7 separate regions of the Homo sapiens genome follow, and regions 1, 2, 3, 4, 5 and 6 are each linked to region 7. Evidence: promoter capture Hi-C in 16 types of primary human blood cells and fetal thymus (Javierre and others, 2016). All regions are on one chromosome and are shown on one strand. Each heading gives the region's core, a stretch centred on a gene start or on the middle of the fragment in contact. The rest is flanking DNA. Distances are from core to core; before and after follow the strand shown.

Region 1 (3,031 bases), core at 80-2,579, 1.3 Mb after region 7:
AGAGGATCTCAGGACAGCATCTGTTTAGTCACTGAGCAGAACCAGTGCCTGCTGCTGAGAATCAGTCCTGCAGCAGGGTCATCACCAGCTGGATCCCACCAGATCCTTCCCCACCATCTCCACCTACTCATTGCCCCCCAGAGTTCTCCACCACAATGGACTATTCCTCATTTCCTTAGAACACCTCACCTTTTCATGCCTCCATGAACTTCCCTACGCCTACAATGCCTTTCTTCTAGTTTGGCAAATTTCTGTGTGTATTTGAATGTCCAGGTAAAATATCACCTCTTCTGTAAAGTCGTCATTGACTTCACCAGGCAGAATCAATTGCTTCTTCATTATTTTTCCATGCATTTTATGCAGACTTAGTATAGCACTTTGCAAAGTGGTGAGCTCCTTGAGGACTAGGACTGCCTCATTTGTATCTAAAATAATGTCCTGTGTATGGGTACTTTAAAAAAATGACAAAGGGCCGGGCGCAGTGGCTCATGCCTGTAATCCCAGCACTTTGGGAGGCCGAAGCAGGTGGATCATGAGGTCAGGAATTTAAGATCGGCCTGGCCAAGACGGTGAAACCTCGTCTCTACTAAAAATAGAAAAAAATTAGTGGGGCATGGTGGCAGGCACCTGTAATCCCAGCTACTCGGGAGGCTGAGGCAGAGAATTGCTTGAACCTGGGAGGCAGAGATTGCAGTAAGCCGAGATTGCGCCACTGCACTCCAGCCTGGGCGACAGAGCGAGATTCCATCTCAAAAAAAAAAAGAAAGAAAGAAAGAAATGACAAAGATTGTTGAATGAATCTCAATGTGACTGAAACCTCAAAAAGAGACCTAGAACATCCTTTTTTTTTTTTTTTTTTTTTTGAGATGGGGCCTCTTTATGTTGCCCAGGCTGTTCTGGAACTCCTGAACTCAAGGGATCCTCCCACTTTGGTATCCCAAAGTGCTGGAATTTACAGATGTGAGCCACTGCACCTCGCCTAGACCATCTTTTCCCTCAATTTGTTATTAAAACTCAGCAACCTCACTGACACATGCTATGCCATGGATAAAACTTGAAAACATCATGTTAAGAGTGAAAGAGGCCAGTCACAAAGAACCACATATTATAGGATTCTATTGATATGAAATGCCCAGAATTGGCAAACCCACAGAGAGGACAGAAAGTAGTAAATTAGTGATTGCCTAGGGCTGAGGGGGTTGGGGAGAAAAACGGAGTGATTGTGAGTGGGTACAGGATTTCTTTGTGAGGTGATGAAGTGTTCTAAAATTGATTGTGATGTCTCACAATTCTGTGAATCTACTAAAAACCATTGCATTGTACACTTCAAATGGTGCCAGACGTGGTGGTATGAGCCTGTAATTCCAGCCACTCAGGAGGCTGAGGTGGGAGGATCACTCTGGCCTAGGAGTTTGAGATCAGCCTGGGTGACAGAGCAAGACCCTGTCTCTAGAAAAGAGAAAGAATAAATGGGTAAGTTGTATGATATATGAATTATATCTCAATAAAACTGATTTTTTTTCTTTAGAGACAGGGTCTTGCTCTGTCACCCAGGCTGGAGTGCAGTAGTGCAATCATAGCTCACTGCAGCCTCGAGCTCCTGGGCTCAAGCAATCCTCCCGTCTAGGCCTCCCACAGTATTAGGATTACAGGTGTGAGCCATTGCACCTAGCCCAGAATTGATTTTTAAAAAACACCTCAGCAACTCCTCTTACTTCATCTAATTCAAAGGGAGGGCTTAAATGTTTCCTTCTTGGAAGGAAGGTGGACCCAATGGGAGTGAGTATGGAGGGGTATAGGCAGGGGTGCTGCTGTGGTCAGCTTGGGAAAGATAGGGCATACGTGGAAAGCAGGCTGAGTGCTGTTAATATAATGGGCTGAGAATACTTCAGAAAGAGGGGTTCTGGTGAAAACGGAAACCACTTCAATGAAACCAGATTGCAGCAGAAAGGCTGAGGTTACTGTGAGAACAGTGAAGTTTTACTTTGAAACCAATGGCTGAGTGTGGTCTCCTCATCTGGCCTGGGAATCTTCTAGGAGGAAAGAATTGTTATCTAGGAGAGGATTAAAATTCTGATAGATGAGGCTGGGCGCAGTGGCTCACGCCTGTAATCCCAGCACTTTGGGAGGCCGAGGTGGGTGAACCACGAGGTCAGGAGTTTGAGACCAGCCTGGCCAACATGGTGAAACCCCCGTCTCTACTAAAAATACAAAAATTAGCCGGGTGTGGTGGTGCACGCCTGTAATCCCAGCTACTCAGGAGGCTGAGGCAGGATAATAGCTTGAACCTGGGAAGCAGAGGTTGCAGTGAGCCGAGATGGGCCACTGCACTCCAACCTGGGCGACAGAGCAAGACTGTGTATGGAAAAAAAAAAAAAAATTCTGGGCTGGGCGGGTGGCTTACAACTGTAATCCCAGCACTTTGGGAGCCCAAAGCGGGTGGATCACAAGGTCAAGAGACCGAGACCATCCTGGCCAACATGGTGAAACCCCGTCTCTACTAAAAATACAAAAATTAGCCGGGCGTGGTGGCATGTGCCTGTAATCTCAGCTACTCAGGAGGCTGAGGCAGGAGGATCACTTGAACCCGGGAGGCGGAGGTTGCAGTGAGCCAGGATTACGCCACTGCACTCCAGCCTGGCAACAGAGTGAGACTCCGTCTCAAAAAAAAAAAAAAAATTCTGATAGCTGTTGCCTAGAAACCCAGCAACCATAAAGTAGAAAGCTTGAAAGGGGGGCTGCTCTCCTTTTGCCCTAGTTGGACTCTCCTGAGAGGTGATAAATCCTAGTACCGCGCATGAGGACTCTGGAGATGGCTGCCTGGGTTCGAACCCTGACTCTTTGCATTTGGAGCTGCATTGCCTCGTGCAAGTCACTCAATCTGTCTGTGCCTCCATTTTCTCTACTGTTAAATGGGGCTAGTGATACTACCTTCCTCATAGGATTCTTGGGAGGATTAACTCAGACAACACATGAATAATTTAGCACAGTGTTGGTCTGGCATGGTGGCTCATGCTTGTAATCCCAGCAC
Region 2 (3,024 bases), core at 428-2,927, 1.4 Mb after region 7:
GTTGACACCTTAAATACAGAATGAGCCCATGTGATAATTTCCTCCTGCACCTGCTCAGCACCTAGTGCTACTTAATTGCCCACAGTAAGCAAGTAAGTAAATGATTTGATAGCTGCAGGGGACCCCAGCACTCTTACCTGTCATTCTCAGGAATCTCTTCCACATTGCCAAAGCCAGGTGTGGGCACTGGGCAGTCCATGTGTGAGGGCTGGGCAATGTGGGGCTCAAAGACGGGGCTGTCCCCGGGAGAGGCCGCGTGGGCTTTCTCGGCATCCAGCCGAGCCAGTTCGTAGTCACAGACGAAACACTCGAAGCCGTTGAGGTAGTTAGGCAGCAAAGGATCATTCACTCCCCACTCCCGATGCTTCAGACTATCCAGAAGAAATTGGTTGGTGATGCCCCCAGGTTGCTTGTATGCCAGGTATTTCATATACTCCTCATCATTCTTGTCCAGAAAGTCAATAAACTCTGCCAGCTTCTGAGGAGACTCAAAATCATCAATCAGGATGACGGAGTGATTGTTCGGCATCCAGTCCCTCACAGAGGGAGAACCGCGGTACACGGGCACAGCGCCCAGGTGCATGGGACGCCACAGTTTTTCTGTCATGTAGTCGTTACAGATGGCATTTTCCAGGGCCAAGTGGAACTTATAGCGGGACAAGAAAGCCAAGAGCTCTGGATCCTCGGTGGTGGCCGTGGCTGTGTCCTGTAGCCGCGCGGTAGGCAGCTCCCGATTCTGCAGGCATTTCCCGTAGGAGTCTACCTAGACCGGGTACAGTAAGGCTGTCATGAGGGTGCGGCCCTGGAGGCCTGGACACCTGGAGTCCTGGACACCTGGAGTCCTGGACACCTGGAGTCCTGGCCTCAACCCGCCCTCTCCTTTTCCTTCCCTCCGGCCCGCCCTCACTCACCGGGATGTGGCGCATGAGCTCGCGCACGTAGCGGTCCCGGTCCGCTGGCACGTCGCAGTGTGACTGCAGATAGAGCAGCGGCGCGTAGCCGCGGCGGCGCCACTCCGCGCGTTCCATGGGCGGAGGCACCGGGCGGCGCAGATAGGCGGTCCCGGGCAGCCACTGCAGCGACAGCGGGTAATCCGAGTGGCGACTGAAGGTGGAGGTAAGATTGAAGAGGCGGATGCCCGGGCCGTGGCTCAGCAAGAAGTTGTTGAGGGGCGACTCCTCGTGGAGGAGCGCCCAGCTCTGGTGCGCCAGGCGCGGCAGCGGGGCGGCCGACGCGCGGAAGTCTGTGCCGTAGAAGAGCAGCGCGCGCGTCCGCGAGTCCCTCAGCGCTCGGCGGTTCCGGGACGCCACGCACGCGCCGCGCGCACACTCGATGCGCTCCGAGTCTCCCGGGAAGTGGGGGAATAGCCCTGGGCTCCACCACAGCAGTACCGGCAAGTCCCCCGCCTCCTCCCTCCCTGGCCGCGGCGTCCCAGAGCTGCGCGTCACCCCCACTGCGCCCAGCGCCGAGGGCGGCCGGAAAACCGCGCCATCCCACGGTTCCGCCCACTCCGCCTCCCCGCCGGCCTCCCTCTCCGCTACGGACCCATGGCCGCTGGCTGCACAGACACTGAGCACCCCTAGAAGGACCAACACCACCCTAATGGGGCCGGCCGCCATGTCCACTCCGGCAGCCGGCGCCCCCTCGGCCAGCACCGACCCCGCCCAGCGGATAGTCGTGACCGGACGAGGCCCTACGCCACGGGGGCACGTGGCGCATGCGCAGCTCGCTCAGCCGACGGCCAGGACTAAAAGCAAAGTGAGCTTTCGGGAGTAAAGATGAGGCTAATGGTTACATCTTAATTTATTTTATTTCTTTACAAATTAAAGATGCATTGAAAAATAAACCAATGAAGAGAAATGAGAGGTCCAGAGCAGGGGCATCCCAGGTGGGGAGCAGGCAAGCCTGGCCACCATCAAGCCTAGCCCTTGTCCTGCCCCCAAGCCAGTTGGGGTTGGAAGATAACTGTCAGCCACTCAGTCAATACCAAAGCCCAAGCGGTGTCCCAGCAGGAGAGAACGGCGCTCCAGCTGCCTCTGCCTCTCTCCCCAACAACCCCGGGCCTGGAGAAGCAGTGTTTCTCGTGGGAGCTCAGAGTGGGATGTGAACTGGCTCTGTGAGGTATTGCAAGTTGATGACCAGGCTCCCTAGGCTCCCTACAGAACCATCCAGTGTTGGGGCCTCTCCAGCTGGAAAGGAAGCTGGTACCTCTACCAGATCTTAATATATTTTGCAACTCAGTTCTCCGGTCACCTCTGACAGTGTGCCTCTCTATCCACGGAGTGATCATCAATCATTGCAGGAGAGAGCGAGCGAGCAGTGAAAGCAGAGAAACTTGACTGCTAACCTCCAGGCCCAAGAAGGACTGACCACTTTTCTCTCCACCACCTATGGGCTATACCCCAGCTCTTGTGCACCTATATGTTTTATCCCTAATATAGGAAGTTGTGGATGACACTGAGCCCCCTGTAGTAACCTTAGGATCCCCACTCTTTCCTGCCTGCCCCTCTCCTCTTGGGAGACTGGTCCAAAGGGACACATAATATTGCCAGGGTCTGGGTGCCTCCAAACCCCCAATACCGAATCATATACAGTGAACTGAGAAGCTACATTCATTATGACAGGATTAGCAGGAAAAAGAGGGTAGAATGAGGGAACAGGGGCACCTTCCATCAGCAGGACATGACAGAGTGGCAGGATACTTGAGCCCAGAAAGAAGGTGTCTCCTTATATCTCCCCCTCCCCCCAGAGAGACTGAGGTCAGCTTACATAAGATATGTTACTGTCCCAATTTCTCTGACATCCTGGGGTGCTTTCTGGAAGCTAGCCTGGGCCCTATGCCATTTACCCACTTGCTTTAGCTCAGTAGCTGCCGAATCTCCTTGTGCATATGACAGAGAAAGTCCACATAAGATGCTCCCCCACTCAGACTCTTGTCTTCCACCAGGAAGTGCTTGAACAGCATCTCCATCTTGTCTTCCTGTTTCACCACGGTAAGCTACGGCCAGAATTCAGGGTTCATAA
Region 3 (3,407 bases), core at 180-2,679, 1.5 Mb after region 7:
AGTCGGGCAGATCACTTGAGGTCAGGAGTTCATGACCAGCCTGGCCAACACGGTGAAACCCAGTCTCTACTAAAAATACAAAAACTAGCCGGGCATGGTGGCACACGCCTGTAATCCCAGCTACTTGGGAGGCTGAGGCAGGAGAAATCGCTTGAACCCGGGAGGCGGAGATTGCAATAAGCCGAGATCGTGCCACTGCACTCCAGCCTGAGCAATAGAGCAAGACGCCCTTTCAAAAAAATAAAAAATAAAGGACACCTGAAAACTCTAGCAAGGTAACAGATTAAAACCAAGTGCAGAACAGGCACCAAAACTTCTTCACATAATCTGAGGAAACAGTTCAAGAATCAGGGGCAAAGTTAGAGTTAGATTTCATGGAAAAAAATCATTCACCTCATCCCTCAAGCAGAAGACTATGAATATTCTAAATTCCAATGCACTTCTCCAACTCTCCTGTTTCTGCTCCCCTTACGATTGTTATGAATCTCAGCCACCATCAAAATTATTACAATCTTGCTCATCAACACAGGGATGAATTAGAGGGCCTTTTCTAAACAGGGTCCTTCCAAGAAAACTATCTCATCACATCTACTTTCAACAGCTGTATCATTCCAATTATCCTGTAGACAGAAGGGGCCCAGAAAGCAGGAGCACTCAGAGTTGCTGCAAAGGGAACAATGGACCTCTCCCCCTTTGCTAGAAGGGCCACCTTGACTATAGAAAAGGAGCTGATCCTGGTCTAAAACTCTTTAAACTCAAAGTTATCTCAATAGCTGTTCTTCCAAACCCTAAACCTTACAGAGGTAGGTCACTGACACTAAGTTTAAAATATGTCCTCTCCCTTTATGTTTCCAAAGCCGGGGGGAGGGGTAAAGAAAGGAGCTTCTTCTCCAGAAAATAATCCCCTCAAACACATTCAAGAGCTTGGAGTCAGACTGAAGTCTCGACTCCATTCTGGGTGGATAGTCGAGGGTGACAACCCAAGGGGGCGGGGCAAGCTTCCTAGAACTCTGAAAGTAGTCAAGCCATGGAGCCTCGGAGAGCCGAGGATCAAAACCGAGAAGCCAAGTCGGCTTCTAGGGCCACGTTAAGAGAGGGGGCTGCTCTGTTAAGCACAGAGACCAAACGTCTTGCACCTTTTAACAGGCTCGGGGCAGGAAGCAGGAGCCGGAATCTGGGCCGGGAGACGAAGGGATGGTCTAGGACCTGCTCCTGGATGGTGGATGCGTGAGGTGAGGGTCTCTACCCAGGCCCCGCCCCCAGGCTCCTCCCTTCTTTCTGAAACCGGACCCCAATCTGGCCAGTAATACCCTGACCTCTCCTTTGCTTTCCTACCCGCCAACCTCCCGATGCCACTCCTCACCCGGCTCCAGATCCAGGTTAGACTTCGTTCCTAACGTCAAGGCTCCCAGGCTCCACTTCCGGTTCCGAGGGGGCCGTCCCGTCACCCCCGGAAGTTCCTCCTCCACGCTTTAGGGCCGGGCCACTTCTTCTGCCACGTCTGCATTTCGGGGACCCGGATGCCGCGCATGCGCCTCTTTCATCTTCCCATCATGGCCGCCGCCTGTGCGCCTCTGCTGAGTCGTATGTATTTCCCTCCTGACATTTTTTTTCAGATGTTCCAGTCACTTTATGGCCTCACCAACAGAAATGAGATTAAAAAGAATTTGTCAAACTATCTTTAATAATGCCCCTTCACTCTGCCTGTGACGTATTAGTGACCTCTGAGCTAGAGTCTTGTAGTCACTTCCTGGTGACCCCTGACCCCGTTGATTTCCGTCCGCTAGGTTGCTCTCACCCATGGCGTTTGCTGGTTATGAGATTTGCGGAACGTGTGGTGGTGGTAAAGGGCACCAACTGTTGTCAACCTGCATGTGGGGGTCTGAGGTCTGGCTCTACAGCTTGTAAAATGGAAATAATAATGCCCAGAGGATGAAATTAGGCCACATAGGCCGCTTGGCATCATAGTAAGCACTCAGTAAAGGTCAATTGTTATTAACCATTTTTATACAGCGCCTTTGTTTAGGTGCAGAGCTTTATCAGAGCCAAAAGATCTCTGCGCTCTGTTGGAAAAGATAGTTCCTGCAGTAATTATTAGTACCCCATTTAATGGCTAAGTAATTATAGCTAACAGTGCTAGGATTTCTTTTTCATATATGACTTCATTTGAACTTTTCAGTACTATTTGTTGATTTCATAATTTTTCGAGCACTGCTGTTGAAACTGCCTTTGCAAAATTACAACTGAGGAAATTATGATAGTGGAAGAAATCAGACTTAACCGACTCCATCTTGCTTCTAACCTTTAAGCTGTCCTTATTCATTCCTGGGTGTAGGTGGAACTAACTTTGGGGAGGAATTCAGTTTATGGTTTGAAACAAAATTGATAATAGCCCCTTCCCGAAAAGACCCCCTTCTTGCCTGGGGACCAGTCTGTCTTTACAGGACTAACAAATTAGCTACAAGATTACAAATTACAGTTTAGGGGACATGCAGCCTCTCGCTCCAAGAGTCTGAACCTCCCCAAATTGCTTTTAGGAATAACATAACTATTGTAAAACCTAAGATTAGTGCTTGAGATGTTTTGCAGACCCTGCACTCATTGGATCAGCTGACTACCTAGACCAGTAACCTGGCTCAATCAGTTCTGCCATTCCACCCAGGAACAGAAAACAGCAAGAAAACCTCACTTTGACTCCCTGTGATTCCGTCTTCAACCTGACCAATCAGCACTCCCCGCTTCCCAAGCTCCTACTCGCCAAATTATCTTTAAGAACTCTGATCCTCAAATGCTCAGGGAGACTAATTTGTGTAATAATAAAACTCTGGTCTCCCACACAGCTGGCTCTGCGTGAATTACTCTTTCTCCATTGCAATTCCCTGGTCTTGATAAATCAGCTTTGTCAAGGCAGCAGGCAGGGTGAACCCACTGAGCGCTGACATTGTGTGCCAAGCCATGTTCTTGGGTCTGGAAATAGAGCAGTGAACAAAAGTGTTTGTTCTCATATTATTGACAGTAAATATCAGTTATTCTGAGGCACAGAGTGGTTTATTCACTGAAAAATTTGCACTTTAGGCTGTGCTGGAAACTATATATTAGGCATTGAGCATGCTTTACTAAACAAGCAGATTGTTCTTGTCCTCTGTTTTGTTTTGTGACAGTCTTGCTCTGTCTCCAGGCCGGAGTGCAGTGGCCCAATCTTGGCTCACTGCAACTTCCGCCTCCTGGTTTCAAGCGATTCTTATGCCTCAGACTCCCGAGTAGCTGGGATTACAGGCATGCGCCACCACCCCAGCTAATCTTTGTATGTTTGGTATAGACAGGGTTTCACTATATTGGCCAGGATGGTCTTGATCTCCTGACGTTGTGATCCGCCCCCCTTGGCCTCCCAAAGTGCTGGGATTACA
Region 4 (2,969 bases), core at 2-2,501, 1.7 Mb after region 7:
GGAAGATTTTCTGGGGATTCAAGCTCTTCTTACAGACTCACTCCTGATCAATGTACTCCAGGTGCCTTCCCTCTATCTTATAAGTTTGTGACGTGCCTCCTGTCCCTTCCTTCCTCTCCTTCCGTGGGGGCCTCTCCCTTTCCCTTCCCCTGTGGTGTTATGGCCCTTCCATGCCAGAAAGATCCATTTTCACCTGTGCCTCACTCCCGAGACTCTTCCCTCTAAAAAATAGCTTGTGGGTTCCCTTTTTGGAAAAAATCCATTGTTGGGTCTTTCCCTTCCTCTTTTCCTGGGGTCTCAGGATAGAAATTGACACAAAGAAGAGGTAGAAAGGTACTCCTTGGACCTTCGGACTACTACTTACTTACCACCATGCATTATGAACAGATTCTGAGCACATGTATTATTGAGCAGGAGGATGGGCAGGAATTGGTTGTTCCATCCCACTTGGATCCTGCACCATCAAGATATATAGAGCTTAGTGGATATGCTGGTCCCTGTCCATGATTCAACATATCTCCTGGTGTCGTGGACACACTCATCTAATAATTTTTGATGAACAGTCAGTTCTTGCCCCTCTACCCCCTTTCCCATGAGTGTCAGTCACCGTGGTCTCTATAAAGGTTCCATAAGTCACCTGGGCCCAGATTCTGTGCATGTGCAGAAATAAGGAATTAATTTCCAATTCCCTATTTACTCCTCTGCCTTCCAGGAGGAGGTTGTATCCTTTTCAGGTGAATTCTTCAGATTCTTTGCACATCTCTTGGTGTCATCCCCTTTATTCCCCTTACCTGTTTTGACAAACTATGGCGCCTAAATTGCTCTAGCTGCAGTCTTATTCTGTGCTTTCAGACTCTTGACAATTCCAGACTCTAAACACAAAGGCCAGAATTCTCTTTCAAACTCCATTTTGGATGGTCCCTTCTCCACTCTAGAACCTACAATGCTTCCTCTATTCTCTGGTCCCCTACCAACCCTTCAGTATTCAGATCTGGTAGCTAAATCGTTATACATTTCTCTATTAGTAGGAGATCCTGAGGTTTAATCACGTCTTCTCAGTTTACTGGGAATGCCATGAGAGCGGGTGTGTTTCCTCGCAGTCGTTCGATCGCAGCACCTCCTCATTCTTCATTCTGCATGCAAAGAATTTTAACCTGATCCCTTGGCCTCGTCCTGTTTCTCTCCTAGCTTCAGTAATTTTGCCCAAGTCCCTAGAGCCTACCCCGCCCCCACCCCCGCACGCGCAGTGCATGCCGGTCTTAGCCCCTCTGTAGGGAAAGAGGGTCCGCCATGTTCCCCGGCGGCGCCGCCGCTTGGCTCTGGTAGCCGCCGCCCCCGCCCCCAACCCCGCCCGGCCCAGAGCCTAGCCGAGCCCCGGGCCCAGCATGGCCGCCCCGGAGCCGGCCCGGGCTGCACCGCCCCCACCCCCGCCCCCGCCGCCCCCTCCCGGGGCTGACCGCGTCGTCAAAGGTGAGAGGTGGACGAAACCCTGGGGGCCTGGCCTGAAGAGCTAGCTGTGTGTGAGGGCGGGCGGGAGACCGTCCCCTCGGGAGTGGGCCCGGAAGGGCGGGCGAGTGACTGGCTGCCTCCCTTGGGGAGTGGCCCCTGGGCGGGCCCCTGCTGGGCAGGGCTGAGTCGGTGGCAGTGGTTCCGCGGTCTCCCGGTTGCTTTCAGGCCGGGGCGGAGGTTTTGCTTCCGTGGCTTCCTAGCCCAAGGGGTGAGGCTGTTAGCTGCAGTGAGCCCGTTTTCTCTTCACTCGGCCTGTCAAAGCGGCGCAGGGGCCGCGATTAGCTTCCTGCCCCGCGACAGCTGCACTTCTGGCTTGCCGGGGCGAACCGAGGGGCTCGGAGACCTTCAGCCACGCGAGGCCCGCCAGTGAGCAGTCAGAAATCACCTCGGCTTTGGCCCACGCCTGCTCCCCGGTGACAGTCGTCCGCCCTATCCGCGTCTAGCTGGCGACAACCGCAGGGGTTCACTTTTGGCCGTCAGGTGCCACCCGGAGCAGAAATTAGGGGAACCTTGTGGGATTGGATCACGGTGAAGGGTCGGGGCAGGAATTGGAAGGCCAGCCTTTATAGTGCAGAAAGGGAGAAAAAGCAGCATAAACGAAAAAAAAAATTCTTGTGGATAGCAAGTATTTACTTAGAAAACCATCAACACTTTGGTCAAAAGGAGTTACCCCTCCCTTACAAACACACACCCACACATTCATCCTAGACGAAAAAGTTAAATGTTTCTCAGCCAGGGCAGAATTTATGGATGTTTACCCACAACAGGTCAGCAGATTAATTTAAAATAGAGAAATTGAGGGCTAATTGAGAGTTGCTTAAGATTCCAAGCTTCCTGGGAGAGCCTACCAACCTCAAACACTGCTGTGGAGGTGAAAAACAATTGAAATGATTCTCTTTACCATGTAGCTTGATTGATAAATTGAAATCGTAGAATGAACTTTTCCTTATTTGTATTGTATTTATTTTTAAAATATAGGTACTTTTGTTTTCATTCAGCTTCTCAAATACACTGGCACAGTATTTAAACACCGTTAGCCTACTTTTTGAAATCTGACTCATATGTTTCCATTAAAATATTTAAAAACAAGGAAACCTTTTTTCTTTTTTTTTTTTAATTAAAAATTTTCAACCTGAGCCTTCTTCGGTTCTTAAAAGAATAATACTAATTTGGCCTGGCGTGGTGGCTCACATCTGTAATCCCAGCACTTTCGGATGCTGAGGCAGGCGGATCGCTTGAACTCAGGAGTTGGAGACCAGCCTGGGCAACATGGCGAAACCTTTTCTCTACCAAAAATACAAAAAATAAAAATTAGCCGGGCATGGTGGCGCGCCCCTGTAGTCCCAGCGGATCGGGAGGCTGAGGCACGAGAATCACTGGAGCCCGAGAGGCAGAAGTTGCAGTGAGCCGAGATTTGCGCCAGTGTGCTCCAACCTGGACGACAGAGCCAGACCCTGTCT
Region 5 (3,020 bases), core at 83-2,582, 1.3 Mb after region 7:
TAGTTCTAATTAGGCACCAAGTACTATTCTAAGTGCCTTAGACCATTTAATGCTGACAGGCCTATGAGGTAGGTAATATTATTGTTCCCAGCCGGGCGAGGTGGCTCATGAAGCCACCTCTGTACTACATACATACTTCATTACTTCATGTATGTACTACATACATACTTCATTACTACAACATAATGAAGCCCCGTCTGTACTAAAAATACAAAAAAATTAGCCGAGCGTGGTGGCGCGCGCCCATAATCCCAGCTACTCGGGAGGCTGAGGCAGGAGAATCGCTTGAACCCAGGAGGTGGAGGCTGCAGTGAGCCAAGATCGCACCACTGCACTCCAGCCCGGGCAACAGCGCAAGACTCCGTCTCAAAAAAAAGATTCAGTGACTTACCCCAGGTCACAGAGCTGATCAGTGAGTTGCCTAGAAATCCAATCCAGGCAGTTTGATGCAAGTTCACGCTTAGACAGCTATGAGATAGCTCTACTGCCCCTTATACCAGTCAATGCATCACTACAAAATGTGGTAGGTGCCAGAAAATAAAAGTACGAGGGTGCCTTGCAAGAAAATGGGGATTTCCCCTTTCTTCCACTTTCTCTTCTAGCCCCCACTGCACAAAGCCTTTTCAAGTCTTCCTACTTCACCCCTTTCATTTCTGGCCGGATAGAGAATACTCTTTCATCTCTGCAGTTATGGTGCAGGAAGGCAGAGTCCTACCTGTATCCTTGCCCCTGGCCTGGTCTCCCTGATCAACCCGCGCCTGAAGGGTTTCTTTCTAATAATGGCCCTGGTGCTTGCGCAAGTCTAGACTGTCAGCTCCCAGAGGGAAGGCGGCTGGCAGCTGGCTCTGCGCAGGCTGGGGGCGCCTCCCGGGCGTGCAGCCTGGCACAGGCTCCTTGACCTTGGCTCTCTCCCCACGTGCTAGGAGCCCGGTTGGGGGCTCGGGACCCGCGTGTAGGACCCGTCCAGAGAGGTCAGTGGTCCAGACTCCTACACTCCTAACACATGCACCCTCGCATGCACGTTCCCGAGCCCGCGCGGGGTCCGCCCCGGGACAAGCCCATAAGTCGCGAACCTTCCAGCTCCGTCTGCCCAGACAGGTGGCCCGGAGCGGGGACCCCCTCCCCTCGGCTGCCCCGCGCGCCTGGCCCAGCGAGGGCGGCTCCGGGGCGGGGCGGGGCCGGCGGCGGGAGGCCCCTCCCCGGGGGCGGGCCGGGGGCCGGGCGGGGGGGGGGACTGGCGGGGCCTGGGGGCGGGGCGGGGCGGGCGGCGCGGGGGTGTCCCTCCCTCCCTCGCTCTCCCCGGTAAAGTCTCGCGGTGCTGCCGGGCTCAGCCCCGTCTCCTCCTCTTGCTCCCTCGGCCGGGCGGCGGTGACTGTGCACCGACGTCGGCGCGGGCTGCACCGCCGCGTCCGCCCGCCCGCCAGCATGGCCACCACCGCCACCTGCACCCGTTTCACCGACGACTACCAGCTCTTCGAGGAGCTTGGCAAGTACGGCCCGCCCGCCGCGGTCCCCTGCCTGCCCTGCCGCCCGGGAGCTATGCGGCTTCTCGCCCCGCCCCCCGGCCCTGCACCGGCCGCTGCGGCTCCCCCTCGGCCGCCCCACCCCCGCCTTTCCCGCCCGCCGCCTTCGGTCCCCGCGCCCCCCGCGCACTGCCCCGCATCCCCCTCCGCGCCCTGCAGCAACTGGCGGGGCCGCTGCTCCCCACGCGCCGCCGCGGACACCGCAGACCCCGGACCGCTCCCGGGTGCCCTCCAGCCCCGCCCCTCCGCACCCTTCAGGCGCCCCCCTCCCGACCACCTCCCAACGCTGCCCGGTTGCTCACTCCGCACCCTGAACCCAGGTCCCACGCGCCTCGCACTCAGGACCCTCCCCAGCCCTGCAGCCCTAGCTCTGCTGCGGAGCCCGGGCGTGGGGGGGCTGTTTGGCGCCCGGCCCCGCCCCCCGCGGGTGCCGCTCCAGGCTCCCAGCCCCGCGGCTGGGCAGTGCTGCGGCACCCCCGTCCCCTCCCCCCACCCCTGCAGTGGTCCCGGGAGCCGCGCCGCAGCCTCAGCATCCCCCTCCCCTCCGCACTGAGCTGGCCGCTGCAGCAGCCCCGGCCCCCCACCCCCACCCGCGGCGCCGAGCCCGGCCACTGCAGCCCCCGCCCCGCCCGCCCCCCCAGACGTTTCCAGAGCTCAGAGTGCGAGCTCCCGTTTGACGGGGACGTCAAGGAAAATAGCATGGGAAGGGGAGTTCTTGATGTCTGACTGTGTCCTCTCTTCCCTTGCTGTCAGTTGAGCCGGGATGCAGTGAGATGAAACCGGCTGTGGGGGGGTTTGAGCCTCACTTTGCCCCATGGTTGAGGGAGATTTCTCTTTCAGGGGATGATACCCTCTTTTTAATCTTTCCTTCCCCGACCTTCAACTGTTCCTGCTGAGAGAAGGGCAGGGTCTCTCTGCTCCCTTCTGCCCTGGTTCTCTTGGCCGGGACCGCAGGGCTGTCTGAGATGCAGCAGGTGTGTGTTTTCAGCATCGCCCACCCGCTCCTGATGTGCAGCCTGAGGTGGAGGCTGTTGCCTTGCCCAGGGACTGGATGAGGGGGTGGGAGCGCGGCACGCCACCCACATCTGTTCAGTGTCCTGCGGTGGCCGCGTCCTTTTGCCTCATGTTGGATGGTGGTGGTCACAGCGCCGGTGTGTGTGCATGTACGTGAGTGTGACTAGAGGTCTGGTGGTGGGAGCATCATCGTCCCCAGACTTGAAGTGTGTCTGTGTCACTCTGCCCTGCTCCGTGTCCCAGTTCTTTTCCCCTTCTCCCTCCAGGGGTGCTTTCTCTGTGGTCCGCAGGTGTGTGAAGAAAACCTCCACGCAGGAGTACGCAGCAAAAATCATCAATACCAAGAAGTTGTCTGCCCGGGGTGAGTGTTCCCTGTCTTGACCTCTTCCTGAGGGTGCCTCCAGGGGCCATGGTTTCTTTTGAGGAAGCCCCAGGAATTGGGGGTTGTGCGTTTTAGCACTTGGAGAGGAGTTGGAATTTCAG
Region 6 (3,461 bases), core at 870-3,369, 2.0 Mb after region 7:
ATAACTTCAGTATACTTTAGTTCTACTTTTTTATTTGACTCACAACCATTCTTAGGTCTCAAGTATTCCCATGTGTTTTAAAAGCCTGAAGTCAGTGAGATGAAATTCAACATCAAGAATTTGAAGTAACTTGTAAGGAAAAATAATATAAAGATACCATTGGGGCAGTGGCTCACACCTGTAATCTCAGCACTTTGGGAGGCTGAGGTGGAAGGATCACTTGAAGCCAGAGTTTGAGACCAGCCTGTGCAACACAGCAAGACCCCGTCTCTACAAAAACTTAAAAAATTAGCTGGCTGTGGTGTTGCTCACCCATAGTTCCAGCTACTCGGGAAGCTGAGGCAGTAAGATCACTTGAGCCCAGGAGGCCGATGCTGCAGTGAACTGTGATTGTTCCACTACAGTCCAGCCTGGGTGACAGAGAAAAGAAAAAGAAAACATTACATAATTTGGCTAGAGCATAATAATTTGATTTTCTGGTTTTTGAAAATTTGAGTTGCAATAAAAGGATATTTCAGTGTGCGATTTCAATTTTCCGTAGCAAATGTATATATAGAAAAATGTTAAAATAGATGTATTTGAATACCTTAAAAAATACAAGAAACTGGAAGAAAGATAATATTGCAAAGCATCTACATATATCCTAGGCCTTTTGTGTACAAGGTTATTTGTGACAATTGTAAGGTATTATGAAGGCAGGTAGGATTATCTCCGTTTTACAGATAGGGAAGCTGAGGCCTAGAGGTGGAAACTTGCCCAGTGATGTAAGATTCATCTCCCGGTTATGCCCTCCTGGAAAGCCCTTCCCAACATATTATGTTGTCCATAGAGGGAAAAATGAGCAAAGACAGATGGCTTAACTCTGGTGTGTGACTAAGATATAGGAAATTTATAGAGGAGGTTCTATCAATGTGCCGACTTACTTTGTGTTTTATGTTCTGAGAACGATTACCAGCCATCTCAAATTCTGTGGTTGTCAAAGCTCCCCTGGGGTTGTTGCTGGTTGGCCCCCACTTGCTTTGAGACTTTGATGCCAGGGCAGGTTGAGAGGAACTGACTTCAGCTGAGTTTGATCTTGGATCTGGGAAAGAGAAATGCTTTGAAAATCACGGCAACTCTGGGAAGTTTAAAAGATATTAATGTATCCTGGAGAGTTTGAGGCTTTGCAGAAACTTATTGGCAGAGCAGAATGATTCTGAAAAATGCTACATCAGTGAGGGGATATTTGATAAGGTATTTTCTGCCAACTCGGGTATTCACTTAGCATTGTTTATCCTTTAAGATATGTATACACATACTTCCTCTGTGAGTTTACCCTACTAACAAAGTTTTATCCCCAGCCTCAACCTTGCTTTGGGTCTCCAGGCCCAAGTTTCTCACCATCTCTTGGATGATTGCTCCAGCCCACTCTGCTGCCACCTGGGATCCAACATGTTCAAACCCAGCTGTGAACTTCACAGAGTATTAAAAGAAAGAGCCTTTGCTTCAGCAGTTTATGTTATTAAGACGGAGGCTTGGGTCATGTTATCTCTCTCCACCAATGTGTAAGGTGAAAGTCCTATTAGGTAAGAGTTTTTGGAAGACCCGTGTTTTGTGCTTTTTGGGTTTCAGTATAGGGTTTTTTCCTACAGGGCTAGAGGGAAAGTACCCCAGCATTTCCAACCAGTGGGGTGCAAAATTATTTGGGTCTACAGCTTTACCTATTCCTTTCAAGAACATTTTTGAAAAAACACATCTGTTAAGTTGAACCATGTGTAACTGCTGAATGCTGATGTTTGGCCGTTTTCTACTTAAAAAAATAGGCCAGCAGTTTGTAAATTCAAGCTAATATATGAACTTTTTGAAAAAGTTGTTCTTGGACACTAAAAGGTAAGACGGACGCCAGATTTCCAGAGCAAGGGGAGGAGAGACCCGAGCAACATCACTTCCCTGAAGACCTAGCTCCTGCGCGCGGCCGGGGACTGTGACTCCACATGCCGGCGTTACTTACCCGGGCCCGCGCCTGACTCGCCACACCTCATTTTGCGGCCGCCGTAAAGCGCGGATGCGCGGCGTGGCCACGCCCCTTCAGTGCTTGTGACGCAGGCGCCCTGGGCTTTTTGGGCGCGAAAAAGAAGCAGTCCTGGGTTGTACCCGGCGCAGCTGGGAGCGGCTGCTTCCTCCGGGGTCGTATCTCCGCCCGGCATGGGGCTGCTGGACCTTTGCGAGGAAGTGTTCGGCACCGCCGACCTTTACCGGGTGCTGGGCGTGCGACGCGAGGCCTCCGACGGCGAGGTCCGACGAGGCTACCACAAGGTGTCCCTGCAGGTACACCCGGACCGGGTGGGTGAGGGCGACAAGGAGGACGCCACCCGCCGCTTCCAGGTATGCAGGGTCCCGCCCCGAAGCCGACCGGCTGCGCGGGCCTCCCCCTAGCCTTTTGGCTACCGGGCCCCGCCCCGGGGGAGCGCGCTGAGCTCCGCTTGGCGCCTTCTGATCTTTATTTCTCGCGCCGCCGTTTCGGTGGGAGGAGCAGGGGTGATTTACGGATACTCTTTGCCCTCAGATCCTGGGAAAAGTCTATTCCGTTCTCAGTGACAGAGAACAGAGAGCAGTGTACGATGAGCAGGGAACAGTGGACGAGGACTCTCCTGTGCTCACCCAAGACCGAGACTGGGAGGCGTATTGGCGGCTACTCTTTAAAAAGGTAAAGGACTCTGGAGGTTTCTTTGTGACTGTTACCATCATTCAATCAACAAACCTTTATTGACTGCCTCTAAGATCTTGTATTTTGTGTTAATTTTGTAGGAATTAGGAATTTTGAGTTTGGCCTTGAAATACAGATACACGCACGCTTACTGAAACGGGCTTTAAATTTCCTGTTAATGTGATTGTTGCACTGAAAAGGGCCGATTTATTTTTTTTGCCGGATGCGCTTTATTTTACATATCCAAATGTAAGTCCTGATTCCGGATCACCTCTCACTCTTGGAAATTTCACTTAAATTTCCCTTCCCTGGTCCCTAGTTAGCAGTTAATGAAGATTGGATTTAAAAAGGAGGACTCCGGAGAAGCTTAGGCATAGAAAATCTGGTTCAATAATTTCAACTCAAGCAACTGTTGTATTGCAGCAATTCAACACCCAACTCTAGTTTTACTAACGTACGTTTTATTTAAAGTAAAATTCCCAAAGTTAAAGCAAATCTCCTTTATCATCAGATATCTTTAGAGGACATTCAAGCTTTTGAAAAGACATACAAAGGTTCGGAAGAAGAGCTGGCTGATATTAAGCAGGCCTATCTGGACTTCAAGGGTGACATGGATCAGATCATGGAGTCTGTGCTTTGCGTGCAGTACACAGAGGAACCCAGGATAAGGAATATCATTCAGCAAGCTATTGACGCCGGAGAGGTCCCATCCTATAATGCCTTTGTCAAAGAATCGAAACAAAAGATGAATGCAAGGAAAAGGAGGGTAAGATTT
Region 7 (3,070 bases), core at 330-2,829:
TGATCTGATTTCGCTAAGCAACCCAAACATACATTTTCACTCTTTATCTAAAACGTTTTAAAAATAAGGTTCTTACCAAATCCTTTGTTGAAAATATCTCTGGCAGCTTTGCCAAGGTCAGCATATGATGGAGGAATACACATTGCTGGTAGAAAAAAAACATTCCAGTGTTAATGTCTCTATTCTCCCACCTTCTATCCAAGAACAAGAGCATGACCCACTGCTGATATTAAAATTCAAGCAATCCCATTTGTTGGAATGTTTTTTATGCGGTCAGGAGCTACAATAGAACTATAACGACCCATAAAGGAGATACCACCAACGAATTATTTCTAAAACAGATAACCATGATTATACAAACTTGGGGAATTCGTTTCAAAACGGAAAAACAGTCTATTACCTACAGCCTCACTTCCTAGGACTGGACAAGTACAAAGAATCAAACAAGTATTTGTGTGTATGGATATTTATGTATCTGCCAAAATTCACTGAGATGAGCTGATTTAACTAAATTAGATAAAACCGAAACCTAAGACTAGGCCCTTTACCCTGATACGTCCTTTAATATCTTCGCTGAGGGGAAAACCAACACCCTGGAGTGGGAAGAGAATTTAATACTGGGAATTTAAATATTGAAACTTGGAAAAAATACTGCCATGTGTGTTTCACTCAAATGTCTACATCAACTAAATATCAAATAGCGCTTCAAACTTACTAATGTGACTCTCAAGTCCTCGGCCAATGCTGTGCTGCTTAAGGGCAGGCAATCTGAGCTCATTACACCAGCTCATTCATTCCACAAAGCACGTCCACGCCCTTAGGAGCACAAGTAATGACCTTGCGCTCTCACAAGAGGGACTGCTACTTCCTCTAGAAAAGTGATTGATCCGATCCTCCAAAGGCAGAATCCCCAATTAACAACTTTTTACTTCTATACGTCAAAGACATGTACAAAGGCTGAAAAGTCCATGCGGCCACAGACCAACTCCCCGGGCCTTGTTCCCCATTTGAAATCCAGCAGCCCAGCCCCTCCTCCGCAGAGGAGGTGGTCAGACGGTGGGGCGACCACCAAAAGCAGCCGAATTTCCAAGTTCTTGGAAAGATAGGGGGAAACAAACTGGGTTTCTGGTCGACAGGCTTCGACTCTCCGCCGCCCCATCCCGCAGAGATCCCAGCTTTACTTACGACGCGCGCAAGTCTGTCCGTGGGTCGCCATGGCGAGGCCGCGGGAAGAGGGGAATCTGCGGGAGGGACAAGAAGTGCGGTAAGCTGGGGTCAAAGGGCCAAAGGGAGATCCCGGGCAGAGAGGGGCGAGGGGCCGCGGGGCAGCGCGGCCATCTTAGGAAGCCAGGGCCGACTCCGAGTCCGGCGCGGGCCTCCGGCTTGGCCGCCGCGGCCTAGGCCCCTGGGTCGGCGTGAGGCGGGCGCGGCGGTACCTGGTGGTGTCCTGAGGGGGGCCGCCGCCACCGCTCCGCTAGCTGCTGAAGCCGCTTGGCACGCTCGCGGTCGGGCTGCAGCTCCAGCAGCTGGAGGGCGAAGTGAAGGAGACACCGTTCCGCCCGCCGCAACCCTGTCCTCTCCCAGACAGGACCCCGCCGCTGCCCCCGGGGCTGTCCGCCGCGCCTGTCCCTGCAGCGCAGCCCGCTGCCAACTCCAACCTGCTCCAGAGCGGCCACGTGGACCGACAGCGCCCCGGTCCTGCAGGTGGGCTGCCTCCGTCCGTCGGTGGGGATCCGGAAGGCAGAAGCTGCTGGGCCTTGGATCAGGCAGCTATCCGGGCAGCCTCAGAGGCGAGGGGGCGGGGAACGGCGGAGGCAGCGCGCTGGGGACCGCCTGGGAGGGGGATGGGGCGGAGGCCCCGCGCGAACGCGTCACGGACGGGGCGGGGCGTCGGCGCGTGGCCGGGGCGATAGGGCGCGGCTGCGCACCAGGGTCACGTAGATCTCTCCTACTCCCCTTACGCGCTGGTGCGGGTTCCCCCCCGAAACAAAGCCCTGCATAGGGTGCCTGCGGGGAGTCAGCTGAGCGTTACCCACGTCCATCCTAAGCTAGCGCAGCCTGCGCTTCTGAGGGACCGCTTCTCTTTCCCAGCCCAGGGAGAACGAGTGGGACACAGGGGCGCCACCTCCAGCCCCTCGCGCTCTTCTGCCCTCTTTTCCCACCTTGGTGTGACTGCCTTGCTGTGCTGGGTTGTGTGCCTGAGAGGCTTTTTGGGACTGCCTCTCCCTGAACAAATGTGAGCGGGTCCTAGCGTGCCCCACCCATTTCCACGCCGCCTTACGCTTTCTCTTCCGCGGCTCCTCCCCACTCAGGCATGGCACTGCTTCACACACGCACGGAGCCGGAGCTTGGCGAGGCAAGCCTGCTCCGGGCCCAACCTCCTCTGGATTATGGGCCTGGAGAAAATGTGGAATCATGCTGAGCAGGCGTTAGAATGCCGCACCCGAGTTCCCCGGGTGTGCAGGAAGGGTGACAGAGCTATTAGATAAAATGTATATGGGAGACCGTTAGTTTAGACTGACCTCCTGCATTAGGCCCATCAGACCAAACCAAAATGGGGTTACTCATGCTGAAGTTTCACACTACCACGCCAAAGCTAGGATCTTTATCTGACCTTCCAAGAAATCAGGAGAGAAACAGATGCTAGCCAGATCCCCAAACAGGCTGGGCGCGGTGGCTCACACCTGTAATACCAGCACTTTTGGATGCCGAGGTGGGCGGATCGCCTGAGCTCAGGAGTTCCGGACCAGCCTAGGCATAGTAATACCCTGCCTCTACCAAAAAAAAAAAAAAAAAAAAAAAAAATAGCCGGGCGTGGTGGCTGGCGCCTGTAGTCCCAGCTAATTGGGAGGCTGAGGAGGGAGGATCGCTTGAGCCTGGGAGGTTGAGGCTGTAGTAAGCTTAGATGGTGCCACTACTGCACTCCAGCCTGCCCGCTGGAGTAAGACCCTGTCTCAAAACAAAAATCCCCAAACAGGTCAGTTTTAGCTGGCATGAAGAAGTCCCGTGTTCTTTAACCTTTACAAGAAAAGTAACTTTCTACCAACTAATCCACTTTTTGTTTCTGCTT

The links. Contacts are between HindIII fragments. The CHiCAGO score rates a contact against its expected background, and 5 or more counts as called.
Region 1: a contact is called between the fragment with the promoter of C10orf55 here and the fragment with the promoter of VDAC2 in region 7, in 5 of 17 cell types (M0 macrophages, neutrophils, non-activated CD4 T cells and 2 more). The highest score is 6.4, in M0 macrophages.
Region 2: a contact is called between the fragment with the promoter of POFUT4 here and the fragment with the promoter of VDAC2 in region 7, in 1 of 17 cell types (neutrophils). The highest score is 8.7, in neutrophils.
Region 3: a contact is called between the fragment with the promoter of SEC24C here and the fragment with the promoter of VDAC2 in region 7, in 1 of 17 cell types (total CD8 T cells). The highest score is 6.4, in total CD8 T cells.
Region 4: a contact is called between the fragment with the promoter of PPP3CB here and the fragment with the promoter of VDAC2 in region 7, in 1 of 17 cell types (non-activated CD4 T cells). The highest score is 5.0, in non-activated CD4 T cells.
Region 5: the fragment with the promoter of CAMK2G here is called in contact with the fragment with the promoter of VDAC2 in region 7 in 2 of 17 cell types (neutrophils and fetal thymus); the score reaches 6.0 in neutrophils.
Region 6: the fragment with the promoter of DNAJC9 here is called in contact with the fragment with the promoter of VDAC2 in region 7 in 1 of 17 cell types (total B cells); the score reaches 7.6 in total B cells.

What each region holds. Positions count from the first base shown.
Region 1 is chr10:73,921,075-73,924,105 of GRCh38, reverse strand. It overlaps C10orf55 (chromosome 10 putative open reading frame 55), which reads left to right and starts at 1,329. Exons shown (of 5, transcript NR_160938.1): 1 at 1,329-1,473. RefSeq lists an enhancer at 2,639-3,031. The HindIII fragment of the contact is 3,151 bases long and covers 1-2,727 here.
Region 2 is chr10:73,770,929-73,773,952 of GRCh38, reverse strand. It overlaps POFUT4 (protein O-fucosyltransferase 4), which reads right to left and starts at 1,677. Exons shown (of 3, transcript NM_173540.3): 1 at 912-1,677; 2 at 138-763. The coding sequence starts at 1,619. It overlaps SEC24C (SEC24 homolog C, COPII component), which reads right to left. Exons shown (of 23, transcript NM_198597.3): 23 at 1,792-2,998. The coding sequence ends at 2,858. RefSeq lists enhancers at 366-415, 260-790, 1,076-1,185, 1,776-1,955 and a silencer at 1,396-1,445. The HindIII fragment of the contact is 15,546 bases long and covers 1-3,024 here.
Region 3 is chr10:73,742,394-73,745,800 of GRCh38, reverse strand. It overlaps SEC24C (SEC24 homolog C, COPII component), which reads right to left and starts at 1,429. Exons shown (of 23, transcript NM_198597.3): 1 at 1,364-1,429. It overlaps LOC124902453 (a long non-coding RNA gene), which reads left to right and starts at 1,536. Exons shown (of 2, transcript XR_007062195.1): 1 at 1,536-1,584; 2 at 2,590-2,837. RefSeq lists enhancers at 914-1,480, 1,381-1,810, 1,481-2,048, 888-2,087. The HindIII fragment of the contact is 9,340 bases long and covers 1,001-3,407 here.
Region 4 is chr10:73,494,306-73,497,274 of GRCh38, reverse strand. It overlaps PPP3CB (protein phosphatase 3 catalytic subunit beta), which reads left to right and starts at 1,251. Exons shown (of 14, transcript NM_021132.4): 1 at 1,251-1,470. The coding sequence starts at 1,386. It overlaps PPP3CB-AS1 (PPP3CB antisense RNA 1), which reads right to left and starts at 1,523. Exons shown (of 5, transcript NR_132104.1): 1 at 1,458-1,523; 2 at 792-1,133. RefSeq lists enhancers at 1,045-1,234, 1,725-2,184 and a silencer at 1,315-1,664. The HindIII fragment of the contact is 5,148 bases long and covers 1-2,341 here.
Region 5 is chr10:73,872,867-73,875,886 of GRCh38, reverse strand. It overlaps CAMK2G (calcium/calmodulin dependent protein kinase II gamma), which reads left to right and starts at 1,332. Exons shown (of 23, transcript NM_001367534.1): 1 at 1,332-1,490; 2 at 2,804-2,898. The coding sequence starts at 1,426. RefSeq lists an enhancer at 610-719 and silencers at 940-1,219, 1,230-1,389, 1,450-1,619, 1,880-1,939. The HindIII fragment of the contact is 9,701 bases long and covers 1-3,020 here.
Region 6 is chr10:73,245,913-73,249,373 of GRCh38, reverse strand. DNAJC9 (DnaJ heat shock protein family (Hsp40) member C9) reads left to right here and starts at 2,119. Exons shown (of 5, transcript NM_015190.5): 1 at 2,119-2,364; 2 at 2,546-2,686; 3 at 3,198-3,452. The coding sequence starts at 2,185. DNAJC9-AS1 (DNAJC9 and MRPS16 antisense RNA 1) reads right to left here and starts at 2,007. Exons shown (of 4, transcript NR_038373.1): 1 at 1,991-2,007; 2 at 924-1,081. MRPS16 (mitochondrial ribosomal protein S16) reads left to right here. Exons shown (of 3, transcript NM_016065.4): 3 at 1-525. RefSeq lists enhancers at 1,873-2,212, 1,478-2,677 and a silencer at 2,413-2,562. The HindIII fragment of the contact is 5,448 bases long and covers 1-3,054 here.
Region 7 is chr10:75,209,305-75,212,374 of GRCh38, reverse strand. VDAC2 (voltage dependent anion channel 2) reads right to left here and starts at 1,579. Exons shown (of 10, transcript NM_001391963.1): 1 at 1,437-1,579; 2 at 1,186-1,241; 3 at 77-145. The coding sequence starts at 1,216. RefSeq lists silencers at 1,306-1,675, 1,696-2,005 and enhancers at 1,650-1,944, 1,675-2,256. The HindIII fragment of the contact is 6,617 bases long and covers 1-2,902 here.